Regions from separate parts of the Homo sapiens genome. Here regions 1 and 2 are each linked to region 3. The links are contacts of gene promoters, found by promoter capture Hi-C in blood cells and fetal thymus (Javierre and others, 2016). All regions are on one chromosome and are shown on one strand. The core of a region is centred on a gene start or on the middle of the fragment in contact, and the rest is flanking DNA. Distances in the headings are between cores, read along the strand shown.

Region 1 (4,991 bases), core at 2,456-4,955, 790 kb before region 3:
CTGGAAAACCCTTGTGCCTGCGGGCAGCCATGCAGAAAAGCCCTGGCCCCAACCTCCTCCCCTCCTCCCAGCCCAGCCCTGTGGGGCTTGCAGCTGCCTCAAGTCACCTGCCTCCTCTGGGTGTCTGTGATCTGGGGAGAGAACTAATCCCGCCACTGTGAGAATTCCAAGTGAAATAATGGCTGGGGAAGTGGTGGGCGCACACAGGTGAGGGATTATTATTCTATCATGTTGCTTCTGAAGGCACAACAGAGAGTGAGAAACTAAGCCTGTCTGGCTCCTCCCCCGAGCCCCACTTCCTCCTCACTTCTGCAGTCCAGCCTGGCTTTGCAAAGAAACAAAATCCTCTCCCCACCCCACTTCCCACACTCGAACCCCTGATTAAGTCCCTTACCTTCCTGGGTATCACTGTCTAATCCCTAAGCCCTTTCTCACCAGTCTCCAGTTGTCTCCAAGAGCCAAATCCCTTTAGAATGAGGTGGCCCAGATAGCTGTGAGCACAGAGGCTGGGGGCAGGGAGCTGGGACCTCAGGAGTCCCCCAGAGGGGAGGGGAGGGCCGGAGGGGTGCTGGGGCCCCTGCTATGGCTCTGGCACTAGCTGGCAGGAGCCTGGGGACTTCGCTTGGGAAGGATGGGTTGCCATTTCCACCCCAAATAGAGCTAAAATAGAGTCCAGATTCGGTAGGCAAGCTTGTTCCCACACCAGTGACCTCTCAGAGCAGAATGGCATAGGAGTGGGCCCACCAACTCTGGAACCAGACTACCTAGGTTTGGGTCCGGGTTCTATAACCTAGCAAAGTTACTTGACCTCTGCCTCAATTTCTCATCTGTAAAATGGCAGTGATAATCTTACTACCTCATGTGATTGGAATGAGATTAAATGAGCGAATTCATGAAAAAAACGTTGAAGAGTACCTGGAACACTGTAAAGCTATTGGCTGTTTTTTTAAATTTTTTGTGGGTTTCTTTTTGTAGAGATGGGGGTCTCACTATGTTGCCCAGGCTGGTCTTGAACTCTTGGCCTCAACTGATCCTCCCACTGTGGCCTCCCAAACTGCTGGGATTGCAGGCATGACCCACTGTACCCAGCTGGTATCAGCTGTTTTCACTTGCATTCTCTGTTTCTTCTCTTGAATATTCTTGCCATTCAGGTGCCAGCCCACACACCACCTCTTAGAGAGGTCTCCCTTCCCTGGTAATGAGGTTGAAGTGGCCTCTGGCCCCCAGCCCCTCTCTGAGGCTATTTTATCTCATTCCTGTGGCACCTACCGTGGCCTGAAATGATCTTGCTTGTGTATGTGGTTATGGTTTTCTCTCTGTTCTCAAGGGCAGAAGCCATTGCTGGTCACGGTCACTGCTCCATGCCCAGTGCCTAGCACCGAGAAGTCCTTTGATATCCATTTGTGGGCATGACGCTCACCCTGTCCCTGAGAGCTGGACCCAAGGAAGGAGCAGGACCCCCTCTACTTTACAGCCCATGCCACAGTTAAGCTGCGGCTACTTTGCATCTGCCCTGTGTGATCTTGAGTGAGTCATCGACCCTCTGAGCATCTGGGTGAGTGGAGGGAGGTGGCAGATGGAACTAGGCAATCAAGGGACACTTTAAGATCTTCTAAGACAACTTGTTTTATGTGCTGGGCCTCATGTCCATAAGGTAAAGGAATCTTAGGGACCTCCATGTTCTAAAAATACCACCACCTCAGGCCTAGCCGTCCCTGTGGCCACTGGGCCAGAAGCCCCCACTGATGGTGACACATTTCCATGAGTTAGGCATTGTCTGCTTCAAGGCCCTTTTTGTACAAAACAAAGTCACTGGGCCCCATGTGGCCACATTCCCCAGGGACCAGCCTGCCACCTGGTGGCAGCTTGATTACATTGGCCTCTTCCTCATAGGTGGGGCCCAGGTTCATGCTCACTGGAATAGACACATATTCTAGATGTGGATTTGCCTTCCCTGCCCTTCATCCTTCTGCCAGCACCACCATCTGTGTACTCACGGAATGCCTTTTTTTTGGCATTTGCACAGCCTGGTGTGTGACCAAATAACTCATTTCACAGCAAAGGAAGAGAAGCAGAGGGCTCAGGTTCACGGAATTCAAGGGCCTTGTCATACACCCCATTCCTGGTACCAATTCTAAAACATTTCATCCTCATCACCACCCCCTTCCACTGCTGAGGTAACATATTCCATGCCTCACACTTTCATTAGTAGCTTTGTTTCTTCCTAGGTCCCCCTGCAACTTTACAGAATAAGGAGAGACAGAGGAATTGGGGCCTTCTCCATGCAGGTCTCTGCCCAGCCCAGGGCCAGGAAACCTTGTATCCCAAGAAACAAGCTACTTGGAATCACAGCATGTCTGATGAAAGGCCCTCCCAAGTCATTTAGTCCAAGCTCCCATTTTACAACTGAGGACACAGGCCAAGAAAACGGAAGTGGCTTGCCCAGAGGCCCATGGTGAGAGAGTGACAGTCCTGTCCGCTCTAGCTCCCCACCCTCTCTTGGGAGTTTGGATCTGCGGGTTGGGCTACTCCAGAGAGAGCCCACAGGGCTGAGGGTCCTGTTGTCCATCCCTGGGAGCAGGGTGCCTGCATGTCTCTTAGCTGGCATCCCTTCCCCCGCTTCTGGGGTCCTCCAGTCCCCTTCTCCTCAGATACTCCACTCCCAGGCAGGGCCTCAAGGTCACTCGTCTCCTTGCAGTCAATCTCCCACCCTTGGCTGCCTCACTTCCTGGGCTTACACTGCACTCTGCCCCCCGCCAGCATTGGCTCCAATCTTTACTGTTTCTTTACCCACCCCCTAACCCTCCTCACCCCAAAGCAGCAGAAGGCCCCTGGCTGGGCTGAGCTACACCCACCCACGTTGAGGTAACATCCTCCAGCTCTTGTTCCTTCTGCGATAACCAGGGGTTACCCCATGGAAGAACACACCACAGGGAACTGGTTACCCACCAAGTTTGCAAGGGGGCTCCGGCTCCCACTGATGGAAGGCTAGGATGTGGATATTTGTAGGGAAGCAGAACTGTGTTCTAGGTGGGGGACAAGCGTGAACAAGGACCTGCATCTGGTTGGAGTGTGTATGTTGAGGGGTGACTAGGTCAGTGGGGTGAAGGGTAGGGAGAAAGTGGGGACAGGGCAGGCAGAACATGGAGCCAAAGACCTGGCTGATTACAGGGTGCATCCTTGCAACCCTGTTGTTGGGGCTGACAGATGGGCTGGGACAGTCACAGAAATGGAGAAGCAAGCCTCTTCACGGGCACCACGGGGCTTCCACAGTGCATTTTGTAGCTTATGAAGAGTGCTTTCCCACATATGAAAAAACGTTAGTAACATATCCAATTAGTGATCCTTTATCCTTGGGCGATACATTCCAAGATCCTCAGTGGATGCCGGAAACCTCAGGTAGTGCTGAAAACATACTGTGTTTCTTCAATCTGATAACTCTGAGGCCTACTAAGTGACTAACAGGTGGTAACATTTACAGCGTGGGGAGGATTCATATCCAGGGAGGGATGGAGAGGAAGGGCAAGAGATTTCATCATGCTACTCAGAACAGCATGCAATTTAAAACTTATGAACTGTTTATTTCTGGAATTTTCCATTTAATATTTTTTTGGACCTCGGTTGGCTGAAGGTAACTAAAACCTCAGGTAAGGGGAGACTACTATAGACCAATGGAACAGAACAGAGAATCTAGCTACGTGCAGTGGCTATTGCCTGTAAGCCCAGCACTTTGGGAGGCTGAGGCAGGCAGTTCCCTTGAGCCCAGGAGTTCAAGACCAGCGTGGGCAACATGGTGAAACCCTGTCTCTACAAAAAAAAAAAAAAAAAAAAAAAAAATTAGCTGGGCATGGTGACACACCCCTGTGGTCTCAGCTACTTTGGAGGCTGAGGTGGGAGAATCAGTTGACCCTGGAGGTTGCAATGAGCTGAGAAGGCACCATTGCATTCCAGCCTGGGCAACAGAGAGAGACCCTGTCTCAAAAATAAATGCATAAATAATTTTTTAATGCTTAAACTTTTACTTTTCTTATTTAGGTCTTTAATCTATATGGAATTCATATTTTGTATATGATGTGTATGTAATAGGGGTCTAATTTCTTCTCCTAATGGTTAATTCAATTTCTTAGCACAATTTACCAAACAGTCCATGCTACTGCCTCCTTGTATCTCCACAAACACAATGTTTCCTCTGATGTACACCATCTTTAGATGTGTGGGTCAGTTTCTGGCCTATTTCATGTTCCATTTGTCTGTCTTTAGGCTGATATCGGGGGCTGTCTTATATACCCGTCTCACACTTCTTCAGGAGCAACTTGGTCATCCCATATCAGTGTTCCTACAGGTGTTCACTGTAAAATTCTTTCAATTTTTCTGGAGAAAAAAGAGTGTTGTGGCTCATCTGGCCCAGGTTGGAGTGCAGTGGCACCATCTCAGGTCACTGCAAGCTCCGCCTCCCGGGTTCACGCCATTCTGCTGCCTCAGCCTCCCGAGTAGCTGGGACTACAGGCGCCTCCCAACATGCCCGGCTATTTTTTTGCATTTTTAGTAGAGACGGGGTTTCACCTTGTTAGCCACGATGGTTTCGATCTGCTAACCTCATGATCCGCCTGCCTCAGCCTCCCAAAGTGCTGGGATTACAGGCGTGACCCACCGCGCCCTGCCCACCATACAATTTTTAAAGGCTCAGGTTTCAGACTGAGCCAGCTCCCAGCAGCCCCAACCCTTGGAGAAACGGACAAGTTTTAGAACAGTAGTGGAACTTCCACATTCCAGTAGACATTTGAGTTATTTGCTGGGGGTGAGGCAGTGTTGATTGTACATGGTGCTTATTTATTTATTTATTTATTTAGAGACGGAGTTTCACTCTTGTCGCCCAGGCTGGATTCCAATGGCGCGATCTCGGCTCGCCGCAACCTCCGCCTCCCGGGTTCAAGCGATTCTCCTGCCTCAGCCTCCTGAGTAGCTGGAATTACAGGCATGCGCCACCACGC
Region 2 (4,784 bases), core at 509-3,008, 710 kb before region 3:
GGCAACACGGTGAAACCTTGTCTCTACAAAAAATGCAAAACTTAGTGGGGCATGGTAGCATGAGCCTATGGTCCCAGCTACTCGAGAGGCTGAGGTGGGAGGATGGCTTAAGCCCAGGAGGCGGAGGCTGCAGTGAGCCGAGATCATGCCACTGCACTCCATCTTGGGCGACAGAGCAAGACCCTATCTAATACCTTTCTGCAGTTGTCAGGGAGAGCTGCTTGGGAGTTTCTCTGTGGTCTACGCCCTTCCCTAGATGAGTGCATCAGAGGAAGGTAGATACCTTGGTTTTTCTTTTTGGGAGCCAGCAAGGCTAGTGCTAAAGGAACCATTTCTCACACTGAGTAGGGTGGAGCTGAGCAGAGTAGAGAGCTGGGCAGAGGTCCAGGGCACCAAGGCCAGTGAAGGGTGGAGAGAACCTGTTTACCATTGTGCACTGACCCAGCACTAGAAGGAGCAGAGCCAGGGAATTCCTCATGGGAAAGACAGGCAGCCCCAGAATTAGCCTGCATTGGGAAGGAGGGAGAGTGAAGCAAGCCAGACTCTCTCACTCAGACAGGGAGCCTGGACACTGCCAGCCGGCTCCTAGGCAGGGGTGGCCGGGCCCCAGAAGGGAGTGCCAGGCTGCTGCAGACCCTCTTCCTTTTTCCTACCAACTCACAGAGTGTGTGGCGTCAGGCAGACCGCTTACCTTCTGGGGAGGGGATGGCCTCACTGCATGATCTCATAGGTTTCCCAGTCCTGACAGCCATTTGCACACCACCAGCCTACCCTCTCCTGCCTTTGGTTTCTCATCATCACTTCTTATGGAACTGGTCTAAAAGCCATTTATACCTTCATTCATTACCACCTCTTAGGGTAGTGAACTCCAGAGGTTGTTGCCTAGTATGCAAAACAGGTCAGCCTTTTGTTTGTCCTCACTTCACTTTCAGGCTCTGGGTGGAGAGGGAAACCCTCTGGATCGGTGATTGGCCATGCTCCCCCTGCACATCCACTTCCCAATTTTCCACACTTTGGTGGGACTTCCTCCAACTGCCTCCTCTCCATCCTGGAGACCCAAGTGTGAGGGGTTTTTTTCACGTTATTCACCCCTGCCTTTCTCGGCACAGAGGGTGATAAGAAGAGGGAAGGGAATGTGACAGGGATTGAAGCCATGGTATGAGCGGGGGACTTTATATGTCTTGTATAGTTTAGTGCTCAGGTGGCAGCCTCTACTTCCAGGCTATGTAACCTTGGGCATATTACTCCACTGTGCTGAATCTTAGTGTTCTTGTCTATTAAATGGAGATAATTAAAGCTATTTCCTTGGGGGATTGTGTGCCTGTGTAGTGCTTGGCAGAGCTAGTACACGGCCAGCGCATGAAAGTGTCAGCTCTTAATTGCCTCACATCATGTTTACCAATGTTCTCTGAGGAGGTGGCATTCCTCCTGGGTTACAGATGAGGAACTGGAAGCTCAGAGAGCAAAGCAGCCAGCCCTGTTTCACACAGCTGTAAAGCGGTAGAGCTTGGATCAGCGGCCAGGAGTTAGAATTTGTTTACCATTGAGCAAATTAAGTAATCTCTCAGAGCCTCAATTGCTTCATGAGTAAAATGGTGGTAATCATGCCCTGCCTTCCTCAAAGGCCTGTGTATGGGGACCAGTCAGATGAGAAAAGAGATGTGAAATTGCTAGTTAAGCCGCAAATACCAGTCACCTAATAGCTACCATTTGCTGGCCACCCACCAGGCTGGGCCCTTGTACACATTTATTCCTCATTGCAGCCCTATAAGAGATGAGGTGTGCGTTATGACCCCACTGAAAGATGAAGAAGTTGTCACTTTTTGCACATGGTCTCCCAGTTAGTAGATGGCAGAACTGGAGTACCTAGCTCAGCTAACTTCAAGTCCCCACTCTATTTATTCTCCCCTACACCCCACCTGGTTTCCCCTATGGGTGAGAGGAGGATCAGTCCTGTGGTCTGTGACCTCAGACTTTCTGCTTAGGGTGTATTTCTCTTTGTTTGGGCTGGTTCAGGGAGTGAGGCTTGGAGGAGGGTTTAGACGGGTTCCTTGGTATCAAGATTTATCTCCCACGACAGGCTAGGATAAGGAGGTGATGAGCATGGACACTGCCCTTGCTGAACCTGCCTAGCCAGAGGTGCTGAGATGTGCTTGGGCAGAAAGCAGATGTCTAGAAGGACAAGGGAAGAGAGAACCCCAGCCCTTGGTCTCAGTAGCCTGGGAAGCAGTCTTGTCCTTCTGAACTTTTGGAAGCCTCAAGCCTCTGGGTTTTGGGAGAACGCTAGGAAACTGGGAACCTACAGAGAATGGGGTCAGCAGAGTGTCACTGCTGCCTTGGACCATGACGTGGCACAGCATGGCTAAGCCTGTTCCAGTCCAGGAGCCTGACAAGATCTGTGATTAGGTGCCACCTTTGTCTCCTCTGAGCCTTTCCTCCTCAGAAGCTGGGGTTGCCAGCAAATGGCAGATTGCCCTGGCCGGGTGCGGTGGCTCATGCCTGTCATCCCAGCACTTTGGGAGGCTGAGGCGGGTGGATCACATAGTCAAGAGATTGAGACCATCCTGGCCAACATGGTGAAACCCCGTCTCTACTAAAAATACAAAAATTAGCTGGGTGTGGTGGTGCCCCAGCTACTTGGGATGCTGAAGCAAGAGAATCACTTAAACCCGGGAGGTGGAGGTTGCAGTGAGCTGAGATCATGCCACTGCACTCCAGCCTGGGCGACAGAGCAAGACTCCGTCTCAAAAAAAAAAAAATGGCAGATTACCCAGGCTTACCATCTGCACCTGAGGTTGTGCTGGCAAACCATCCCATCCAGTGTATTGGTGTCTCTGAGCATTGCTAGGTACGGGCAGGCCACTCACTGGGGCAGTCACAACACTGGAGGAGGGGGTTAGACTGTCTCCAGTGGCTTGGGCGCCAGAGATGGAGCCACACAGAAGCATCTGGAGAAGGGCCTGATTTCCCCACAGCCTTCCCCAGGGAACTGGAAATAGCATATAGGTCACTGTGACAGAGGGGAAGCCCTGGGTCAGCTACTTACTTATTAGCTTTGTGACTTTGTCCAAGTCATACAACCTTTCTGATCAGGCCAAGTCTGTCATGGTCCAAATGGAAATAGTAATTAATCTGTGAGGGCCCCACTTCACTGGGCTATTAGAGGGACACGTACAATTTCTAAGGCAGAAGTAGCTTGTAGCCCTGATGCAGTGCAGATGAAGGTAATGATGTCATGGAGAAAGCCAGGCAGGCAGCTGTTGAACACCTGGGGCGTGTGGTAGGAGTCACAGAAGAAGTTCAAGACCCGGTCCAGCTGGGGAGGGACAGTGCTGAGTAATATGAGCAAGTGGTAATGAAGTGCATATTTCACACTTAATGACTTGACTCATTTGTCAGTTGGTGCTGAAATCAGTTTTAGGGGCTTGTGACCAGCATTTAAAACAATAGAATAGAAAAATAGAAAATCAATCTGGAAATATCAGAGTGCATTAGTACATGTAAGGGCAACTCGTTTCCTAAAATGTATTCTGGTTGTGTGTGTGTATGTGTGTTGTGTTTGTGTGGGTCTCAGTTTAAAAAGCATGAGACATGGTGTTCTGAGCCAGGATGAAGATCTTCAGGTTGGAGGACATTTTACGAGATCTAGGCAGGCAGGCAGGCAGGCATGCAGGCATGCAGGCATGCAGGCAGGCAGGCATGCAGGCATGCAGGCATGCAGGCTGTGTGGAGGCTGAGGGCTTGGCCTGTGGAGGCAGAGAAGTGTAGTACAAGGGTCAAGAGCATGAGCTGTAGAGTCAGTCAGGCCTGGGTTTGAGTCCCAGCTCTGCCACTTATAGCTACATGGTCTTAAAACACTCTTAACATTACTAAGCCTTGGATTCTACTTTAAAATGGGGAGAATGGGCCGGGCGCTGTGGCTCACGCCTGTAATCCCAACACTTCAGGAGGCCGAGGCGGGTGGATCGCCTGAGGTCAGGAGTTCAAGACCAGCCTGGCCAACATAGTGAAACCCTGTCTCTACTAAAAATGCAAAAAATTAGCTGGGTGTGGTGGTGGGCGCCTGTAATCCCAGCTACTCGGGAGGCTGAGGCACGAGAATCACTTAAACCCGGAAGGCGGACGTTGCAGTGAGCCGAGATCGCGCCATTGCACTCCAGCCTGGGCAACAAGCGCAAAACTCCGTCTCAAAAAAATAAAATAAAAAGGGGAGAATGATGTTATAGTAGGGTTATTACAAAAGGTACATGTGATAAAGGTATGTGAAGCATTGAGAAGAAAATTGTAAGTAGTAAATAATCTACGAATGGTAACTACTGTTGCTGATATTATTATTGTTGTAGTGATGGTTTTTAATGTAATATTGGGCTCTGAAGGGTTACTGTCACTTGGAGAAGGGAGAAGAAAGGGCATTCAGTTAGGGATGAGTGGATGGTGAGGGATAAACATGTGTGTGCCTGGTATGGGAGAATTGTATGGCCTCAAAAGCGGTGTTGAGATTACGGTGGAAGTTACTAGGACAATTTTGGCATAAGGTGGGGAAGAAAGCTTTAGCAGTGGAAACTGTTTAACAATAGAGTGACTTCACCTGGAGGTAAGGAAGGCCCATCCCTGGAGGAGTTCCAGCAGTGGCTGAGCCAAAAGAAACTGGTCTCACTTGTCTCTTTTGGCTTCAGAGACTCCCTCAGTCTACCTTAAGGAAGGAGGGGTTTTCTGGAGGATGAGTGAGGCCGCCAGATTTGCGACATCCCCCATGGGCCATTTGTGGTCCCTTATACTGGGCC
Region 3 (5,131 bases), core at 944-3,443:
GCCCGGTATTACAGTTTGCAATAGTCTGGAGTAGAAGCTCCACCTCACTAAGCTAGGAGTGAGTAAGGAGGGAATGATCTTGGTTCAAATACCATACCCTCTCATCTTTCTTACCGAATTTGTAGATTTTCTTGAATAGGTGTTTTTTCATTTGTTGTTTGCCCTCAGGACCATTGCCGGAGGGTTTAAATAGTTGATTTTAAAAAAAGAATTTTTGGGCCAGGCGTGGTGGCTGCATCTGTAATCCCATCACTTTGGGAGGCCAAGGCGAGTGGATTGCTTGAGCTCAGGAGTTCAAGATCAGCCTGGGCAACATGGCAAAACCCTGTCTTTACAAAAATTAGCTAGGTGAGGCTGGGCGGGGTGGCTCACATCTGTAATCGCACCACTTTCCCACCACTTTGGGAGGCCCAGGTCGGCTGGTCACGAGGTCAGGAGTTCGAGATCAGCCTGCCCAATATGGTGAAACCCTGTCTCTACTAAAAATAGAAAAATTAGCCAGACGAGGTGGCGCACGCCTGTAATCCCAGCTACCTGGAAGGCTGAAGCAGGAGAATCACTTGAACCTGGAAGTGGAGGTGGCAGTGAGACAAGATCGCGCCATTGCACTCTAGCCCGGTGCACTCTGGGTGACAGAGCGAGACTCCGTCTCAAAAAAAAAAAAAAAAAAAAAATTAGCCAGGTGTGGTGGCACACGCCTGTGGTCCCAGCTACTCGAGAGGCTGAGGCAGGAGGACTGATTGAGCCAGGGAGGTTGGTCAGGGTTGCAGTAAGCCATGATCACACTACTGCATGCCAGCCTCGGTGACAGAGTGAGATTCTGTCTCAAAACGAAACAAAACAAAAAAGAATTTTCACCAGTTTTACAGAGGAATGGGTTCCTTAAGCTGTCATGCTGGAAGCTGATCTTATCTAAGGCTGCTTTTGTGTTACAATGGTAGAGTTGAAGAGTTGAATAACTCCAACAGAGATTCTCTAGTCTACAAAGTTGAAAATATTTACTATGTGGTCCTGTACAGAAAAAGCATGCCAACCCTTGCTTACTGCTGCCAATGCTGCTGGTCCACAAACCACACTTTTAGCAGCAAGAACTTAAATTACTTGAGAAGCAGTACTGTACGGGCTGTGAGCTTGGTTCAAAACCCCACCTTGCCATTTACTAGATAAATGGGTTTGTTCTGAGGATTAAATGTGCAAATGTCTAGCACTTTGAAAATACTGAACAATTGATAGCTGTTATCATCATGTTGGAAACTATGTGGAAAGTAAGTATGAGATGTTATATCGTTCTTCAAAGGGTTTTTTTTCCCAGAATATGCAAGCTTTAGAAAAGGGAAACAAGTATTGGCTTTCCAATAAACAAGACGCAACTTCTAATACCTGGGTACATAACAATATTACCTAATGAAAGAATAAACTTTCAAGCTTTTAAGCGTAAGCCTAACTTAAGCCTGACACTGAAATCCTGAATTTTCTATCACAGGAGCATCCAGCTTCTTCCAATAACAATGAATGAAAATAACCTTCAGGAAATGCCAAAACCCAAAAGTCCTATGAAAAAAAGCAGCAATCATCTTTAACATGAGGTTTTGGGCCTAGTTGGCCCTTCCGGTTCTGCCCGTCTCTAGCTACACCCATAAGATGATATAAAGAGAACCTCTCGAGCTTCCACCTCGACTGTCACCGCAGCAGTCGGGGCTGCCGGCCGGTTACCTCGCAATTGAACTCCATCTCGGCGTCCATGGTGACGATCCTCACGGTGAACGTCTTGGGTTGCTTCCTCTTGAGAGAGCTGAAGCTCATGCGGGAAGCGATGGCCCCGGCCATGGCGCGGGGCTCAGGCCCGGGACCCTCGCGCCCCACGGCCTGCACTCTGAGCCCTTTAGCCCCCCTGGAGTTGCTGCACAGGCCTCAGGGCCACCATGGTGGCCGGCTGCCCGGCCCGGGAACGGTCTGGGCTGCGCGGGTCCCCAGCGGCCAGCATGGGCCGCGAGGACCCTGCCTGAGCGGAAAGGGGAGTTGGGGGACGGGCCCTGACGGCTGCAGGGAGGGCACAGGAGCCGGGACCTTCGGTGCAGGCGCGACCCGGCACTCCGGGATTCGGGCCGGAGATGCCGGGGACGCCTCGGGACGGGACCCCTAGACGGCAGCGGCCCAGACTCCGCGCGCCTCTCAGCGGCCGACTAGGGTCACGGGGCCGCGCTGCATCGGGCGCGTACGCGCGCGCGTGGCTGTCACCGTCCTCACTCCGCGCGCCCGCGGGAAGCGCACCCTCCCCACAGCCCGGGGCCTGCTCCCGGCCCCGCCCTCAGGTCGCCCAGACCACTACGCGCAGCGCAACCGAACCGGAGGCTGACGCATAGATGCTGCGATTGGCTGGGAAGGCCAAGGTAGGCAGGACTTTCCCGCTCCGTCCCGCCTCCTTTGGGGTGACTCCACCAATGGAAAGTTTCACTCTAACTGCAAAAAAAGCAGGCCTAGGCTCGGCGTTGAGTGGCTACAGTGGCAGTCACTCTGAATGCTTTTGTGCCTACTCTAACAAGACTGGTTGAGGCGGCGGACCTCTGCTGACCTTACCCGGGAAACCACTTAGAGGCTGGATCCGGGGCGAGGGGAATTGGGTCCTTCGTTGGCCCAGGGAGGGACTCTTCGGTTCAAGTAGGCTCCGAGTGTGGCGCCCCAGGGGACTGCGTTTCGGACACACGGCGAATATTCTTCTTTGGCAGTTAATCACATATACCGACCCCTATGAAACTTTAAAGACACTTGTGGAGGCCTGTTAGGTTTGCTGGCACTTTCCCGCCAGATCCCTCTGCTTCCCTTTAGAATTATTATTATTATTGTTATTATTATTATTATTAATTATTATTATTATTGGGACGGAGTTTCGCTCTTGTTGCCCAGGCTGGAGTGCAGTGGCGCGATCTCGGCTCACTGCAACCTCCGCCTCCCGGGTTCAAGCGATTTTCCGGCGTCAGCCTCCCGAGTAGCTGGGATTACAGGTATGCGTCACCACGCCCGGCTAATTTTGTATTTTTATTAGAGACGGGGTTTCTCCATGTTCGTCAGGCTGGTCTCGAACCTCAGGTGATCCGCCCGCCTCGGCCTCCCGAAGTGCTAGGATTACAGGCGTGAGCCACCACGCCCCGCCTAGAATTATTATTGGTTATACCTACCTCGTGAGGTTGTTGAATTTCAGCGCACTGAATACATATAAGGCTTTAGAGCTGAGCCTGGCATCCTATGAAATTGCTGAATTTGGGTTGAAAATGAAAGCATTCTTTATTTTATACTCTATGATGCCCATTTTTGAACCGTATTCATGTATTATTTATTTAGTGTCATCAAGGGTTCTAACGGGTGTAGGGGGGATAATTACACCTTTCTGTACTTAGATAATAAATTCTATTTTAAAATAGCTCTTAGTAGTCAAATAGGGACAATTTACTGTGTTTTTTCGTTTGTTTTTTGTTTTGAGACAGAGTTTCGCTCTTGTTGCCCAGGCTGGAGTACAATGGGGCGGTCTCGGCTCTCTGCAACCTCCGCCTCCCGGGTTCAAGCAATTCTCCTGCCTCAGCCTCCCCAGTAGTTGGGATTACAGGCACCCGCCACCACGCCCGGCTAATTTTTGTATTTTTAGTAGGGACGGGGTTTCACCATGTTAGCCAGGCTGGTCTCAAACTTCTGACCTCAGGTGATCTGCCCACCTTGGCCTCCCAAAGTGCTGGGATTACAGGCGTGAGCCACCGCGCCCGGTGTACTGAGTTTTAACAACAATAATCACCCCATAAATGTTAGCTAACATTAGCATCACCCCCCCAACTCCACAGGTGAAGATACTGAGAGATATGATAGAGCCACTCGCTGACTATAATGCAGATAGTGAAAGGCAAAGCTAGGACTCAAACCCAGGTCTGTCCCACCCAGAGCCTGCTGGTTAGCACTGTGCTGCCCTGCTTCCAAATTCTCCCTACTACAGCCTCAGGAAATGTGAATTACAGTTCCGGAGTACTCAGCAGACATTGTTGCTGTAACGGTATATTAATGGAATAAATCTAGTTCTTCTGCACGGACCCCTGCTGTGCCTGGTAGCACCGGCCAGGCCTCAGGAATGATTTGCTGCCACACCCAGTGAGGCTGCTGTGGGGACTTTATGTCCTGCCTTCTGCTAGCAAATTCTCCCCACCAAAACTGATTGCTCAGGGCAGTATGGGCTTGGCATGGGAGTGTCTTCATTATCATTGCTTCATTTCTTCCCCGCAGGTGGGAGAACCGGGCTGGGTTTTCTGGGCTCCCCACAGGGACAACAAATGGCTGCTGATAAAAATACGTGACACCGGGCCGGGCCCAGTGGCTCACGCCTGTAATCCCAGCACTTTGGGAGGCAGGCAGATCACAAGGTCAGGAGATCGAGACCATCCTGGCTAACACGGTGAAACCCTGTCTCTACTAAAAATACAAAAAATTAGCCGGGCGTGGTGGCGGGCGCCTGTAGTCCCAGCTACTCGGGAGGCGGAGGCAGGAGAATGACGTGAACCCGGGAGGCGGAGCTTGCAGTGAGCCGAGATGGCGCCACTGCACTCCAGCCTGGGCGAGAGTGCGAGACTCCGTCTCAAAAAAAAAGGAAAAAGAAAATGCGTGACACTGGGAACCCAGTGAGGAGTAGCAAAAGGAGGTGGATCAGCTAGCAGGGACTAAAAAGCGACACTGATGATTGGTAATAGCTCATTTTTATGAAAAGACTTGCCAGGTGCTAGGCACTGGGCTAATTGGCCCCAAATGCCAAATTTAATGTTCCTGGGAGGACATCCAGCTGGACATATGGGTTTGAATCCCAGAAGGGAGGTCAGGGCCAGGAATAAAAATCGATGTGATAGAATCTTTTGCTGGTATTAAAAGTGCCATTCACAGGTTGGACACAGTGGCTTACACCTGTAATCACAGCACTTTGGAAGACCAAGGTTGGAGGATCACATGAGGCCAGGAGTTCGAGACCATCCTGGGCAGCATAGTAAGACCCCATCTCTACAAAAAAAAGTAAAAATTTAGCCAGTGTGTGCCAGGTGTGGTGGCTCACACCTGTAATCCCAGCACTTTGGGAGGCGGAGGCAGGTGGATCACTTGAGATCAG

The links. Contacts are between HindIII fragments. The CHiCAGO score rates a contact against its expected background, and 5 or more counts as called.
Region 1: a contact is called between a fragment that was not itself captured here and the fragment with the promoter of NF2 in region 3, in 2 of 17 cell types (fetal thymus and neutrophils). The highest score is 5.9, in fetal thymus.
Region 2: a fragment that was not itself captured here is called in contact with the fragment with the promoter of NF2 in region 3 in 2 of 17 cell types (fetal thymus and non-activated CD4 T cells); the score reaches 7.3 in fetal thymus.

What each region holds. Positions count from the first base shown.
Region 1 is chr22:30,388,139-30,393,129 of GRCh38, reverse strand. No RefSeq gene overlaps it. Among named protein-coding and RNA genes, the nearest start is that of RNF215, 3.2 kb to the right of the region's middle. RefSeq lists an enhancer at 1,437-1,626. The HindIII fragment of the contact is 6,025 bases long and covers 693-4,991 here.
Region 2 is chr22:30,307,217-30,312,000 of GRCh38, reverse strand. The region is part of intron 1 of TBC1D10A (TBC1 domain family member 10A); the gene reads left to right. Among named protein-coding and RNA genes, the nearest start is that of TBC1D10A, 17 kb to the left of the region's middle. RefSeq lists enhancers at 2,036-2,085, 3,152-3,241, 3,302-3,361. The HindIII fragment of the contact is 5,585 bases long and covers 1-4,550 here.
Region 3 is chr22:29,600,695-29,605,825 of GRCh38, reverse strand. NF2 (NF2, moesin-ezrin-radixin like (MERLIN) tumor suppressor) reads right to left here and starts at 2,193. Exons shown (of 16, transcript NM_000268.4): 1 at 1,714-2,193. The coding sequence starts at 1,827. RefSeq lists a silencer at 1,848-2,427 and an enhancer at 2,678-2,807. The HindIII fragment of the contact is 9,228 bases long and covers 1,428-5,131 here.